Regions from separate parts of the Homo sapiens genome. Here regions 1, 2, 3 and 5 are each linked to region 4. Evidence: promoter capture Hi-C in human tissues and cell types (Jung and others, 2019). All regions are on one chromosome and are shown on one strand. Each heading gives the region's core, a stretch centred on a gene start or on the middle of the fragment in contact. The rest is flanking DNA. Distances are from core to core; before and after follow the strand shown. Region 1 overlaps DDX27 (DEAD-box helicase 27). Region 2 has its middle 15 kb from the start of SNORD12. Region 3 overlaps SLC9A8 (solute carrier family 9 member A8). Region 4 holds the start of PTGIS (prostaglandin I2 synthase). Region 5 overlaps SPATA2 (spermatogenesis associated 2).

Region 1 (2,700 bases), core at 176-2,675, 330 kb before region 4:
GGTGCGATCTCGGCCCATTGCAACCTCTGCGTCCCGGGTTCAAGTGATCCTCCTGCCTCAGCCTCCCAAGTAGCTGGGACTACAGGTGCATGCCACCACGCCCAGCTAATTTTTATATTTTTAGTACAGGTGGGGTTTCACCATGTTGTCCAGGATGGTCTCGATCTCTTGACCTCGTGATCCACCCGCCTTGGCCTCCCAAAGTGCTGGGATTACAGGCTTGAGCCACTGCCTTATTTTGTTTAAGATAAGGTCTTGCTTTGTTGCCCAGGCTGGGGTACAGGGGTGCGATCATAGCTTACTGTTGCCTCGAACTCCTGGGTTCAAGCAGTTCTTCTCCTCAGCCTCCTGAGTAGGTGGGACTACAGGTGTGTGCCACCATGATGGCTAATTTTTTTTTTTTTTTTAGATGGAGTCTCGCTCTTTTGCCCAGGCTGGAGTGTAGTGGTGTCATCTTGGCTTACTGCAGCCTCCGCCTCGTGGGTTCAAGCAGTTCTCCTGCCTCAGCCTTCTGAGTAGTAGCTGGGATTACAGGCGTGTGCCCCCACACCCAGCTGATTTTTGTATTTTTAATAGAGACGGGGTTTCACAGCATTGGCCAAGCTGGTCTCAAACTCCTGACCTCAGGTGATCCACCTGCCTTGGCCTCCCAAAGCGTGGGATTACAGGCATGAGCCACTGTGCCTGGCTTTTTTTTTTTTTTTTTTTTTTTTTGTAGAGACAGAGTCTGGCCACGTTGCCCAGGCTGGCCTCAAATTCCTGGGCTCAAGCAATCCTCCCACCTCAATCTCCCAGAGTGCCGGGTTACAGGTGTGAGCCACCATGCCTGGCCTACCCTTATTTGTAAATCCTTTTTATTTTCTCCCATTGAGATGTCATCCTCAAATTCCGGGACAAGATTGAGAAAATGGAGAAAGATGTGTATGCAGTTCTGCAGCTAGAGGCGGAGGAAAAAGAGATGCAGCAGTCAGAAGCCCAGGTGAGGCTGCGAGGCGGGATCTTGTTCACAAGGCTGCTCAGTAAGCAAGCTGCTGCATCCCTGCTGGTGCTGCCCTTCTGAAATGTTTCTCCCATCAGAGCCCCAGGCATTTGCAGCCCGTGGCTTCCTGTGTTAGTAGATACGGGTTTCACGGCAGGCATCCTTTTGTTATCTCTACAGATCAATACAGCAAAGCGGCTCCTGGAGAAGGGGAAGGAGGCAGTGGTCCAAGAGCCCGAGAGGAGCTGGTTCCAGACCAAAGAAGAGAGGAAGAAGGAGAAAAGTAAGTCAGGGAGGTTCCGCAGAAATCTAAATACAGAATTACCCCACAGGACTCAGCAGTTCCATTTCCTAGTTCTATACTGTAAAGCAGCGGTCCCCAACCTTTCGGCACCAAGGACCAGTATCGTGGAAGACAATGTTTCCACATTTGGGGTGTGGGGGTTGCATTAGATTCTCATAAGGAGTGCACACCCTAGATCCCTCGCATGCGCACTTCACAATAGGGTTAGTGCTCTTATGAGAATCTAATGCTGCTGCTGATCTGACAGGAGGCCAAGCACAGGTGGCAATGCTTGGTTGCCCAATGCTCACGTCCTGCTGTGCAGCCTGGTTCCTAATACGCCATGGACTGGAACCGGTATGCAGCCTGGGGTTGGGGACCACTGTTGTAAAGGATGTAAACAGGGACTCAAACAGATACTTAGATGCCAGTGCTCTTTGAATTACTGTTCATAATAGCAAAAAGGTGGAAACAAACTATGTTCATCAACAAGTGAATGGATAAACAAAATTTGGGGTGTGTGTTTATATACACACAATGGAATATTATTCAGCCATGAAGTTCTGATACATGCCATAAGGATGAACCTTGAAAATCTTAAGCTGAATGAAATAATCCAGACACAAAGGGACAAATACTGTCTGATTTCACTTACCTGAGATATCTAGCTAGGCAAATTCACAGAGACAGAAATAGATTATAGATTACTTAGGGCTAGGGGAAGGGGGGTTATAGGAAATTATTAGTGGTTGCAGAGCTTCTGTTTTCAATGATGTCAGTGAGTAGCCTCCTGATAGGAGTTTTGGAAACAGATAGTGGTGATGGTTGTACAATGTTGTGAATGTAAGTAATGCCACTGAATTGTATACTTAAGATTGGGTAAAATGGCAGCCTTTGTTTTATATGTGTATATATAACCACAATAAAAATAATTTTAAAAAAGTTAGGAGATATTTAATACAGATTTCCTCTCCATCTCCCTTTAAAAAAGACCCAAAACACTTATAAGTTCACATTGTTCTATGCCTCGCCTTTTCACTTAATTTTGAAGCTTAGAGATATGTTTTATATAGGCCCACATATGCTGCCCTTTTTGTTTTTTGTTTTCAGACGGAGTCTTGCTCTGTCACTGAGGCTGGAGTGCAGTGGCGCAATCTCGGCTCACTGCAAGCTCTGCCTCCTGGGTTCACCCCATTCTCCTGCCTCAGCCTCCTGAGTAGCTGGGACTACAGGTGCCTGCCACCGCACCTGGGTAATTTTTTGTATTTTTAGTAGAGATGGGATTTCACCGTGTTAGCCAGGATGGTCTCGATCTCCTGACCTCGTGATCCGCCTGCCTTGGCCTCCCAAAGTGCTGGGATTACAGGTGTGAGCCACTGCACTCGGCCCCCTTTTTGTTTTTTTTAATGGCTTCATGTTCTTCCATCATATGAGTAGA
Region 2 (2,700 bases), core at 16-2,515, 270 kb before region 4:
GGTTGATCTCAAAACCCTGTCTCCTGATAAGATGTTATCAATGACAATGGTGCCCGAAACTTCATTAGCAATTTTAATTTCGCCTCGGTCCTGTGGTCCTGTGATCTCGCCCTGCCTCCACTTGCCTTGTGATATTCTATTACCCTGTTAAGTACTTGATGTCTGTCACCCACGCCTATTCACACACTCCCTCCCCTTTTGAAAATCCCTAACAAAAACTTGGCTGGTTTTTGTGGCTTGTGGGGCATCACGGATCCTACCAACGTGTGATATCACCCCCGGACGCCCAGCTTTAAAATTTCTCTCTTTTGTACTCTGTCCCTTTATTTCTCAAGCCAGCTGATGCTTAGGAAAATAGAAAAGAACCTACGTGATTATCAGGGCAGGTCCCCCGATAAGTAATAGTCATCTTCATCCGAGTGAAAAGGAATAAACTAGTGATTGTGCAACAACTTGGATGAACCCCAGAGATGCGATGCTGACTGAGGGAAGCCAGCCTCAAATGGTTACATGCTGTGTGATTCCATTTATTTGACATTCTGGAAAAGACAAAGGTATGATGAAGGGAAGAGATGATGGTGTTGCCAGAAGTTAGGATGGGTGGCGGATGTGGATGTAAAGGGATCGCACAAGGAAGTGTTTGGGGTGTCATGATTGCCGTAGTGGTTATATGAATGTACTGGGCCAGGCATGGTGGCTCACGCCTGTAATCCCAGCACTTTGGGAGGCCCAGGTGGGTGGATCACCTGAGGTTAGGAATTTGAGACCACCCCGGCCAACATCGTGAAACCCCATCTCTCCATCTCTACTAAAAATACAAAAATTAGCTAGGCGTGGTGGCGCGTGCCTGTAATCCCAGCTACTTGGGAGGCTGAGGCAGGAGAATCACTTGAACCTGGAAGGTGGAGGCTGCAGTGAGCTGAGATCGCACCATTGCACTCCAGCCTGGGCAATAGAGTGAGACTCCGTCTCGAAACAAAACAAAAACCCAGATTTATAGAACTGTACAGCAAAATAAAAAAATAGTTTTATTGTATGACAATTTTTTTATTATTTATTTTTGAGACAGGGTCTTGCTCTGTCACCCAGGCTGGAGTGCAATGGTGCGATCTTAGCTCACTGCAGCCTCCACCTTCCGGGTTCAAGCAATCCTCCCACCTCAGCCTCCTGAGTAGCTGTGACTACAGGTGCGTGCTACCACACTCAGCTAATTTTTAAATTTTTTTAGAGATAGGGGTCTCACTATGTTGCTGGAGTTGATCTCAAACTCCTGGTCTCAAGTGATCCTCCTGCCTCACCCTCCGAAAGTGCTTTTTAAAAATGTTAAAAACAAACATAGGCTCTGGAGCTAGACTTGGGTTTAAATCCCGGCTCTGTTATGTATTAGCCATTGGCTCAATCTTCTTTTTCTTTTCCTAGATTTTGCCTGCCTGAGCTCCTCTAGTAGTGGCCACAATTGCCAGAGAAGATAGAGCAGGTCTCTCCCAGGACTTGCAGCTCCAGCCTGTGTCTGCAAGGGGTGTTGTAGCGACTGATTTCTCCAGCCCATGGCAAGAGGCCTTCATCTTGTGCCTGGAAAGAGGGAAGTACAAGTCCGTCTGGCAGAGATGGTGCAGATGGGCAAGTTTTTCAGACACTGCAGCCAGCACTTCTGGGACCGCAGCAGTGGAGCCTGCAGAGGGCCGGTTCTCCAGGCATGGGCTACTGACATTGTCACTTCCAGACTCCTTATGCAATAAACAACCCCTAAACAGATTTATTCACAATTTCTCCATCCTAACAAGTCAGTGATCAGTTTTCACTTTTCCACATTCCCTTCTGTCCCCATTATGTTCCCATAGTGGGGCAGCTTCTACCTGCATGGTTGGAGCTTCCCATTTTTAAAGAGGCAAGAAATCCTTTAAAGTTCTTTGAAATGTTTGTAGCCTGTTCCAATTTTATAAACTGTGAAGACTGAGCAACACACAATGCATGGGCCTCATATGGCCTGGAGGCCACCAGTTGGAGACCTCTGTAGCTTGAGCTGTGTCCCTTTCAGCACTGTTCTTGTCATTCCTGAGCTGGGATGCCCCCTGAAACATAGGATGCTCAGTTAAATTTGAATTTCTTTTTTTTTTTCCTTGAAATGGAGTGTCGCTCTGTCGCCAGGCTGGAGTGCTGTGGCGTGATCTCAGCTCACTGCAACCTCCACCTCCCTAGTTCAAGTGATTCTCCTGCCTCAGCCTCCCGAGTAGCTGGGATTACAGGCATGCACCACCACACCCAGCTAATTTTTGTATTTTTAGTAGAGACAGAGTTTCACCATGTTGGCCAGGATGGTCTTGATCTCCTAACCTCATGATCTGCCCGCCTCGGCCTCCCAAAGTGCTGTGATTACAGGTGTGAACCACTGCGCCCGGCCGATGGCAATCATTCTTTAAGATGCAGCCTCCGTGGACCTCGTACCTTCTCAGTAATTTCCATATTCTTTGCTGACTTGGGTTTTTCCTCCAAAATTGTCTGGGATAAATTGAGGTTTGTGGAGTTTCCTGATGGCTAGTTTCCAAACTGGCTTCAAAGCCTGGGCTTGTGGAATTGGCTGGGTCTGCGGCCAGCCTAACCCATCCTTCGGTCACAGTCTCCCATGGTCCTGATATTAATTCATCACAGGTCTGTTTAGAAGGTGGCAGAAACAGACGGTCTTGGGCTTATTTATATCTG
Region 3 (2,700 bases), core at 90-2,589, 270 kb after region 4:
AAAAACACTAAGCTTTAAAAATGAAGCCTGAAACCATGGAAAGAGGTTTAACTTCCCTAGTAATCAGGATGATTGCTGAATGCAAATTGAATCAAATACAAATTGAAACATTAAAGTACAATTTCTTGCCCACTATGTTGGCAGAAATGTTAACATCTGATGATTATCCAGCGCGACTGAGGATGTGGGACGCTTTCTTGTGGAAGTGTAAGTCGGTACAACCACTTTGGAGGATAATTTGGCAATATTTTCAGAGTTAAAAATGCTTATGCTTTGTAAACCTGCCATTTGTAGTCTCTGGATCTGCCCTAGGGAGATAGTCTGGGTTTGTTTTTTTTTTTGTGAATGTCTTCCACAGGGAGATACTCTTAACACAGAGTGGCATGTACAAGCATGTTCAATGCAGCACCACTGTTAATAGCAAACAGCTGGAGGCAACCATCAGTGGGGCAATGGTTCAAAAGGTTGTGATTTTAAAAAAAAGGTACAATATAATTCACATATCATAAATTTCACCATCTTAAAGTGCACAATTCAGAGTTTTTTAGTATATTCACAGAGTTGTACTACCATCACCTCTACCTAATTCCAGAACATTTTCATTACCCCAAAAAGAAACTCATACCCATTAGCAGTCACTCCCCATTTCCACATTTCTCCCTTCTCCCATCCCCTGGAAACCACCAATCTACTTTCTGTCTGTGAATTTGCCTGTCCTGGACATTTCGTATAAAGAAATAGAATCATACAATCGGTGGTACTTTTTATTTGGCAACAGCTTTATTGAGATGTACTTTGTATGCCACACAATTCACTTTTTTTTTTTTTTTTTTTTTTTTGAGATGGAGTCTTGCTCTATCACCCAGGCTGGAGTGCAGTGCTACAATCTCAGCTTACTGCAACCTCCGCCTCCTGGGTTCAAGCGATTTTCCTGCCTCAGCCTCCCCAGTAGCTGTAATTACAGGTGCCCGCCATCACGCCCAACTGCTTTTTTTGTATTTTTAGTAGAGACGGGGTTTCACTATGTTGACCAGGCTGGTCTTGAACTCCTGACCTCAGCCTCCCAAAGTGCTGGGATTACAGGCATGAGCCACCATGCCCAGCCAATTCACCCATTTTAAATGTACAACAATTTTTAGTATGTTCAGAGTCGTGCAGCCATCACCACAGTCAATTTTAGGACATTTTTATCACCTCAAAAAGAAACCACATGCCCTTTAGCTCTCCTCCCTGTCCCTGGGCAACCATTACTGTCCCTGTAGATTTGTCTATTGTGGACATTTCATATAAATGGAATGGTAAAATATATGGTCTTTTGTGTCTGGCTTCTTTCACTTGGTGTATTTTCAAGATTCTTCCATGTTCTGGCAGGTACCAGTACTTCATTCCTTTTCATTGCTGAATAATATTACATTGTATGGATATACCACATTTTGTTTACTCACTCATTAGTTGATAGACATTTGGGTTCTTCCCACTTTTTTTTTGAAATGGAGTCTAACTTTGTCACCCAGGCCGGAGTGCAGTGGCGCAATCTCGGCCTACTGCAACCGCCGCCTCCCAGGTTCCAGCGATTCTCCTGCCTCTCCCAAGTAGCTGGGACTGCAGGTGCATACCACCATGCGCAGATAATTTTTGTATTTTTAGTAGAGACGGGGTTTCACCATGTTGTTCAGGCTGGTCTTGAACTGACCTCAAGCAGTCCACCCACCTGCGCCTCCCAAAGTGCTGGGATTACAGGTGTGAGCCACCACACCTGGCCTCTTTCCACCCTGTGACTGTTTGAAATACTGCTGTTAGGAATATCTGTGTACAGGTTTTTACATGAACATGTTTTCAGTTTCTTTGAGTAGAATTGCTGGGTCATAAGGTAACTTTTGAGGAATTGCCAAACTGTTTTCCATGGTGGTTGCCCCATTTTACATTCCCATCAGCAATGAGTGCGTGTTCCAATTTCTCTATATCCTTGCCAACACTTATTTCTCATCTTTAAAATTATAACTGTGAAAGGAAGACAAATCTTGGGACCCTAAAATCACTAAGCTAAAGGGAAAGGTCAATCTGGGAGCTGCTTAGGACAAACCTGCCTCCCATTCTATTTCTAAAAAGATAGCTACTAAGATAAAAAAGTTAACATACCTCCCTCTCAATTTGTACACAAGAAAATTCCTTGTGGACAAAGGACAGAACTCAAAGTCACCCCTCTCTTTGTTGAGATAAATGCATATCTGATTGCTTCCTTTGGAAAGGCTAATCAGAAACTCAAAAGAATGAAACTGTTTGTCTCTTATTTATCTGTGACCTGGAAGCCCCCTCCCTGCTTCTAGTTGTCCCACCTTTCCAGACCAAACCAATGTACATCTTACATTGTTGATAGATGTCTCATGTCTCCCTAAAATGTATAAAACGAAGCTGTGCCCCGACCACCTTGGGCACATGTCGTCAGGACCTCCTGAGGCTGTGTCAAGGGTGGTCATCCTTAATGTTGGCAAAATAAACTTCCTAACTTGACTGAGACTTGTCTCAGATACTCTGGTTTACATAACCATCCTAGTAGGTATGGAGTGGTATCTCATTGTAGTTTTTATTTGCATTTCCCTAATGATTTATGATGTTGAACATCTTTTCATGTGTTTCTCAGCCATTTGTATATCTTCTTTTCCAAAATATCTATTCAATTTTTTTTATTATTTTTATTTT
Region 4 (2,700 bases), core at 11-2,510:
AGTAACGGACCAGTGTTGGTTTTTAGTGGCGACAAATGTCCCATAACAATGTAAGATGTTAACAATAGGGAAAACGGGGTGAGAGAAATACAGGAACTTTTTGTACTATCTTTGCAACTTTCTGTAAATCCCAAACTAGTCTCAAATAAAAAGTATATTTTTTTAAATATGGAAGGTTCTACCCAGACTCAGCAACAGGAGAGGCCCAGAGAGGGAGAGAGGACTAGACTTCAGGGGCTGGGGGAGGGTTAAGGGGCTTCGGTCTTACCTATAACAGGATAAATATTTGTGTTAAGTCGAATGTATTCAGCTATTCCTTATGCAATTCAAGTTAACTTAAAAAATATTTTATGAAAAGGAGAGCTACAGCTATCTCCTTGATTTGAGGCTGTCTTTACTTTTTCTCCTAAATCACAGATGCTCAATGGAGCTGGAAAACCTTTGGGACCAGGAGGCTGTGACATCTGACCCTGGCTCCGTTCTGTCCAGGCTGTGGGACCTCAGGGGAAGGTAGAGACTTCATAGGCCTCAGTTTCTCCCTGGCAAATGAAATTACTAAGCCCACCGACCCCCGTCTTCCAGACGGGGAATCCCGGGGTGGGTGGTTCCAGGGCATGATCAAGACATCCCCCAGGGGCTCTACACTCCGCTGGCTCAACACTCCCATCTGTGTAATGGGTTGAGGAGCGAGGCTATCCCTATAGGACTGCCGAAAGCAAGGCAGGGTTTGACAGCGCGTAGGTGGGTGCCAGGTGCAGGCAGAGGCTGGAGAGTGGAGAGCGCTTCTTCCACCCGGGCCACGCAGAGGCTGTCCCCGCACGGCTCCCCACCCACAAACCCTCGGTCCTCACCTGAAACCCCCTCCTAGGTCCCTGCCGTCGCGCTAAGGGCCAGACTCGGACTTGTCGCGGTGGGCGATTCGCCCCGGGGGACCTACCGGACCCCGCACCTTCCCACCTTGCACCTTCTTGGCAGGGGGAGCACGGCCTGGCCCCCTCACCCACGTGCGGGGCCCCGGGACTCCCACCTCCGAGGGTCTCGCCTTGCCCGGGATACTGGAGCGGGACTCGGGCCGGGCCGGCCGCGGGCTCCGAGACCCTTGGGCTGCAGCCCGGGCGGGAGCCGCCCCCTTTGTCTGGCGGGGCCGAGCGGAGCAGGACACTCACCGCGTGCGGCGGCGGCTCAGTAGCAGCAGCAGCAACAGTGCGGCCAGGAGGCCGAGGAGCGCGGCCCAAGCCATCGCGGGGCTGGCGGGGCTGGCGGGGCTGGCGGGGCTGGCGGCCTGGCCCACTCCCAGGTAAAGTTCCCCGCCCCCACCCGGCGCGCCCCTCCCACTCCGCCCACCCCAGCCCGCTTTGGGGCGGGGTGGGGGGGGTGGGGGATGGGGCCCTCCGAGGTCCGCAGGGGTCGGACCGGGGCGCTCTGTTAGAAACCCTGCTCCCCCCAGCTCAGGCCTGATGGAAAATGTGGGAGGGAGGGGAGGGGAGAAGGAGGGGGAGGGGGAGGGGGCGGAAGGGATGTGGTGGGCTGGGGAGTGATCAAGGGGAAAGGAGATAGATGGGGGACTGAGGGGGATGTGGTGGACTGGGGGGTGATGGAAGGGAGGGGAGAGGGAGAGGATTTACAGGAAGGAAGAGATTATATGCGGGGAGGGAAGAGGGATGGGGAAGATGGGAGAGGACTTTTGGGGAAGGGAAGAGGAGGGAATGTGGGAAGACGGCGGGACGATGGGGAAACAGCCAAGGAGGTATGGGGAGGAGGGGGCACAGTGGGAGGAGAAAATGTGGTGGGAGGGGACGAACATGGAGGAGGAGTGTAAGGGGGTCAGGAGGAGCTTTCCCACCACATTCCACATTCCACCTAGACAGAGGAAACCCCCCAAGGCTCCTCCTCACCCCATCCCCCACCCCAGGCGTGCTGGGGACCTGGAGTTTTCCATTCTGTGGTCTGGGCTGGGAGGGCTGGTCTGGATTATATCGCACCCTATAGTATCTTCAGTAACTACTGGGCAGGGGGTACAAGGGTGTCTCAGGGAGTCCCCTCATCCTCACCTGCTTTGGGGACAGATAGTGCCCGTGAAGTATGCACCCTCTACCTGGTGCACGTTAGGGCCTCCGGATGTGGTGGCCATTGTCATCGCTACCTGGTGCTTGGGGTGCCAGCCCCCTGTGCCCGCGGCTCTGCAATGTACCACCCCAGGGTGCTGATGAGAACTGGGGGTCAATCCAGCCTCACTCCACGCCCCTGCCCCCACCATCCCCATTCCCACCCTGGGAAGCGTTGGGCAGGTAGCTCAACCTCTCTGAGCTCACCTCATTATCTGGAAACAGGGAGGGCAGAGTTGTGCTTACCTCTGGGGCTGTTGTGAGGAAGTGATGAGAGCTTGACACTAAAAGGAATCACAAACTGTTGAGTGCTTGGCACACTAAGTTTTATGAAACCATGGGCTGAACCTGGAGGTAAGACCCAGGAGGTCTTGTTCTAGTCCTGTATCCACCCATTCAGTGCCGGGTGAGCTTAGGCACGTTTCATTCCATAGTCCCAGCAGAGCTCTGGAGAAGCTGTTGCTCCTCCTGGTCTCCTGGCTTCCATCCTTATCAGCCAGGGTCCTGACAAGGCCCTTCGAGAACCAGCATGATCCGCCCCTTCTCACCTTTACCTGCCTGACCCTATGCCCCCGACTCTCTCCCTCACCCACTC
Region 5 (2,700 bases), core at 77-2,576, 340 kb after region 4:
TGTGGGAGACAGCAAGGGGCTGAGAGAAGCTGCAGCAGGACTGGGCCTGGCATGTGGGGGACTCCTTTAGCAGACCTGTGTTCAGCTAGGAAGGTCCTACGAGCCCAGCAACTATCAGGAGGTCAACAAAATCATCCTCATCTCAAAGAGCCAGTAGTCTGGCTCCTCCACAGATTTTGTCCCCAGGAGGAGACTCCTGGGAGTACTAATGGTGCGGTGAGAGGTGGGATGTGTAGCAAAACTAGGGACACAGAGAGGCCACTGTCTCCAACACACTGCACTGCTGAGGGAGCCCAGTGCTACAGTGACAAATAAGGCTGAGGAGTACAGGAGGCAAACACATCCATTTAGGGGCCAGGTGCGGGGGCTCACGCCTGTAATCCCTAAACTTTGGAAGGCCAAGGCAGGAGGATTGCTCAAGGCCAGGAGTTCGAGACCAGCCTGGGCAACATAGCAATACCCTGTCTTTACAAAAGAAAACAAAATCCACTTGGGATAAAATTCTGCTTCAGGAAGATTCTCATCATTCAGGCCTCAGCTCAAACATCAGCCTCTAGAGGTACCACCCTATCTCACCTTCCCAGTTCCACACTGTCACATTCTCCTACGATAACCACAATCTGAAACTATCAACTTCATTCATTCATTAGCTTCCTCTCTTTGTCCACCCCTCACCCTCCCTGGTAAGCTGGTAAGCTCGTGGTAAGCTCCATAAAGGCAAGGACCATGTCTGTGTTGTTCACCACGATGCCTAACACAGAGCCTGCCTGTGCTTGATAAAGTAGGTGAAATGGATGCTGCAGCCAGGCACGGTGGCTCACGCCTGTAATCTTAGCACTTTGGGAGGCCGAGGCAGGTGGATTGCCTGAGCTCAGGAGTTCGAGACCAGCCTGGGCAACACGGTGAAACCCCGTCTCTACCAAAATTTAAAAAAAAATTAGACGGGTGTGGCAGCATGCGCCTGTAATCACAGCTACTCGGGAGGCTGAGGCAGGAGAATTGCTAGAACCCAGGAGGCGGAGGCTGCAGTGAGCCGAGATCGCCCCATTGCACTCCAGCCTGGGCAACAGAGCGAGACTCCGTCTCTAAAAAAAAAAAAAGAAAAAGAAAAAGAAAAGAGAAAAAGAGAAATGGATGCTGCAAAGGATGTCTGCATTCACGATGCCATCACTTTAGTTTCTCATTGGTACCTCCCAAGAATCCTGGGAGATCAGCTGGAGAGCAAAGAAACGGGCTCAGAAAGATGGCATGAGGTACGACAAGTAGCTCAAGGTTAGCAGATGATGGACCCGATAATCCAAGCCTGGCCTTCTGACTTGGAACCTGTATTCCTCTCACCACCCCACGATTCCCATGTCCAGCAAGCATTTCTGCAGCCCCCACCCTCTGCCTGAGCTGGACCCAGTCGGGGAATGGGGATGGGTGGGACAGGTAGAGGACAGCAATAAAGGAGACACATCCTGCCTGCAGCTCTAGCTGGAAGAGCATACCACCTAGTATCAAAGTAGGTATGTGCTCTAACTTCATACTGTTCTGTCCATAAAAAAATAAACAATTTAAAATGTATATTCTCTTAAAAAATAAAAATGCAGGCCAGGCGCGGTGGCTCACGCCTGTAATCCTACAACTCTGGGAGGCCAAGGTGGGTGGATCGCCTGAGATTGGGAGTTTGAGACTAGCCTGGCCAACATAGCGAAACCCCGCCTCTACTAAAAATACAAAAATTAGCTGGACGAACACCTGTAATCCCAGCTACTCAGGAGGCTGAGGCAGGAGAATGGCGTGAACCCAGGAGGGAGAGGTTGCAGTGAGCTGAGATCGTGCCATTGCACTCCAGCCTGGGCAACAGAGCAAAAACTCCATCTCTACATAAATAAATGTATTGCACCACTGGAGAGGATAGTCACACATGCATTTACCATTCTTGACTTATCTAAGAGAAGCTGCCATCACGCCTCTGGCCCCAGGGTCTGTTTTTTGGTAGTCTGAGAACCATTCAAACACAGAGACATTAAGCTTCCGAATACTGCTGTAATTTTTCTCCAAGGAAGTCAGCCTTGAACTCAAAGAGACTGATTTTTTACAAAGTCAGCCAGTCTCAAGCTCGGCTCAGCGTCTGCTGCTCTATAATCGCACCACAGTCCACACCCTTGTTTGTTGCTGAAAAACAATAAATAAAGGAAAGGGATCCAAACAGCCCAGCTGATGTTCAAAATACTCACAATAAGGACAGGAAGCCTATCTAAAACAAATCTCAAACCAACCTGGGTAGGTGAGGGAAAAGGCGGAAGAAAGTAAAAGCTAAAAGATAATTAAGGGCAAGACAAGCCTGGACAACATAGTTAGACTCCGTCTCTACAAAAAAAAAAAAAAAAAAAATTAGGTGGGTGTGGTGACACCCACCTGTAGTCTTAGCTACTTGGGAGTCTGAGGTGGGGGGATCCACTGAGCCCAGGAGTTTGAGGCTGCAGTGAGCTATGATGGCACCACTGCACTCCGGCCTGGGTGACAGAGCAAGACCTTGTCTCAATCAGTCAATAAGGAAAGGAAAGAAAGAGACTAACAATTACTGAGGTTCTACTATGTGCTAAGCATTGGGCTTCCCACTTTACCTACATCATCCCATTTAATCCTCACAACTCTATAAGGAAAACAGGCTCTTCCCATTAAAACAACCTGCCCAACAGAGTTTGAAAGGGT

Evidence for each region. Contacts are between HindIII fragments. The study calls those that stand out against the background at their distance.
Region 1: a fragment that was not itself captured here is called in contact with the fragment with the promoter of PTGIS in region 4 in 1 of the 25 tissues and cell types used here (dorsolateral prefrontal cortex).
Region 2: a fragment that was not itself captured here is called in contact with the fragment with the promoter of PTGIS in region 4 in 1 of the 25 tissues and cell types used here (dorsolateral prefrontal cortex).
Region 3: a fragment that was not itself captured here is called in contact with the fragment with the promoter of PTGIS in region 4 in 7 of the 25 tissues and cell types used here (H1 embryonic stem cells, IMR-90 fibroblasts, dorsolateral prefrontal cortex and 4 more).
Region 5: a contact is called between a fragment that was not itself captured here and the fragment with the promoter of PTGIS in region 4, in 1 of the 25 tissues and cell types used here (lymphoblastoid cells).

What each region holds. Positions count from the first base shown.
Region 1 is chr20:49,238,077-49,240,776 of GRCh38, forward strand. DDX27 (DEAD-box helicase 27) reads left to right here. Exons shown (of 21, transcript NM_017895.8): 15 at 873-979; 16 at 1,160-1,262. Among named protein-coding and RNA genes, the nearest start is that of DDX27, 20 kb to the left of the region's middle. The HindIII fragment of the contact is 3,226 bases long and covers 1-2,700 here.
Region 2 is chr20:49,293,984-49,296,683 of GRCh38, forward strand. No RefSeq gene overlaps it. Among named protein-coding and RNA genes, the nearest start is that of SNORD12, 15 kb to the left of the region's middle. RefSeq lists enhancers at 1-176, 177-1,110, 1,111-2,043. The HindIII fragment of the contact is 7,192 bases long and covers 1-2,700 here.
Region 3 is chr20:49,834,865-49,837,564 of GRCh38, forward strand. All of the region lies in intron 3 of SLC9A8 (solute carrier family 9 member A8), which reads left to right. Among named protein-coding and RNA genes, the nearest start is that of SLC9A8, 23 kb to the left of the region's middle. RefSeq lists enhancers at 1,207-1,707, 1,708-2,208. The HindIII fragment of the contact is 7,659 bases long and covers 1-2,700 here.
Region 4 is chr20:49,566,877-49,569,576 of GRCh38, forward strand. It overlaps PTGIS (prostaglandin I2 synthase), which reads right to left and starts at 1,261. Exons shown (of 10, transcript NM_000961.4): 1 at 1,167-1,261. The coding sequence starts at 1,240. LOC101927486 (a long non-coding RNA gene) reads left to right here and starts at 1,168. Exons shown (of 2, transcript XR_244188.4): 1 at 1,168-1,297. RefSeq lists enhancers at 1,561-2,177, 2,178-2,700. The HindIII fragment of the contact is 24,721 bases long and covers 1-2,700 here.
Region 5 is chr20:49,910,581-49,913,280 of GRCh38, forward strand. All of the region lies in intron 1 of SPATA2 (spermatogenesis associated 2), which reads right to left. Among named protein-coding and RNA genes, the nearest start is that of SPATA2, 3.6 kb to the right of the region's middle. The HindIII fragment of the contact is 3,455 bases long and covers 1-2,700 here.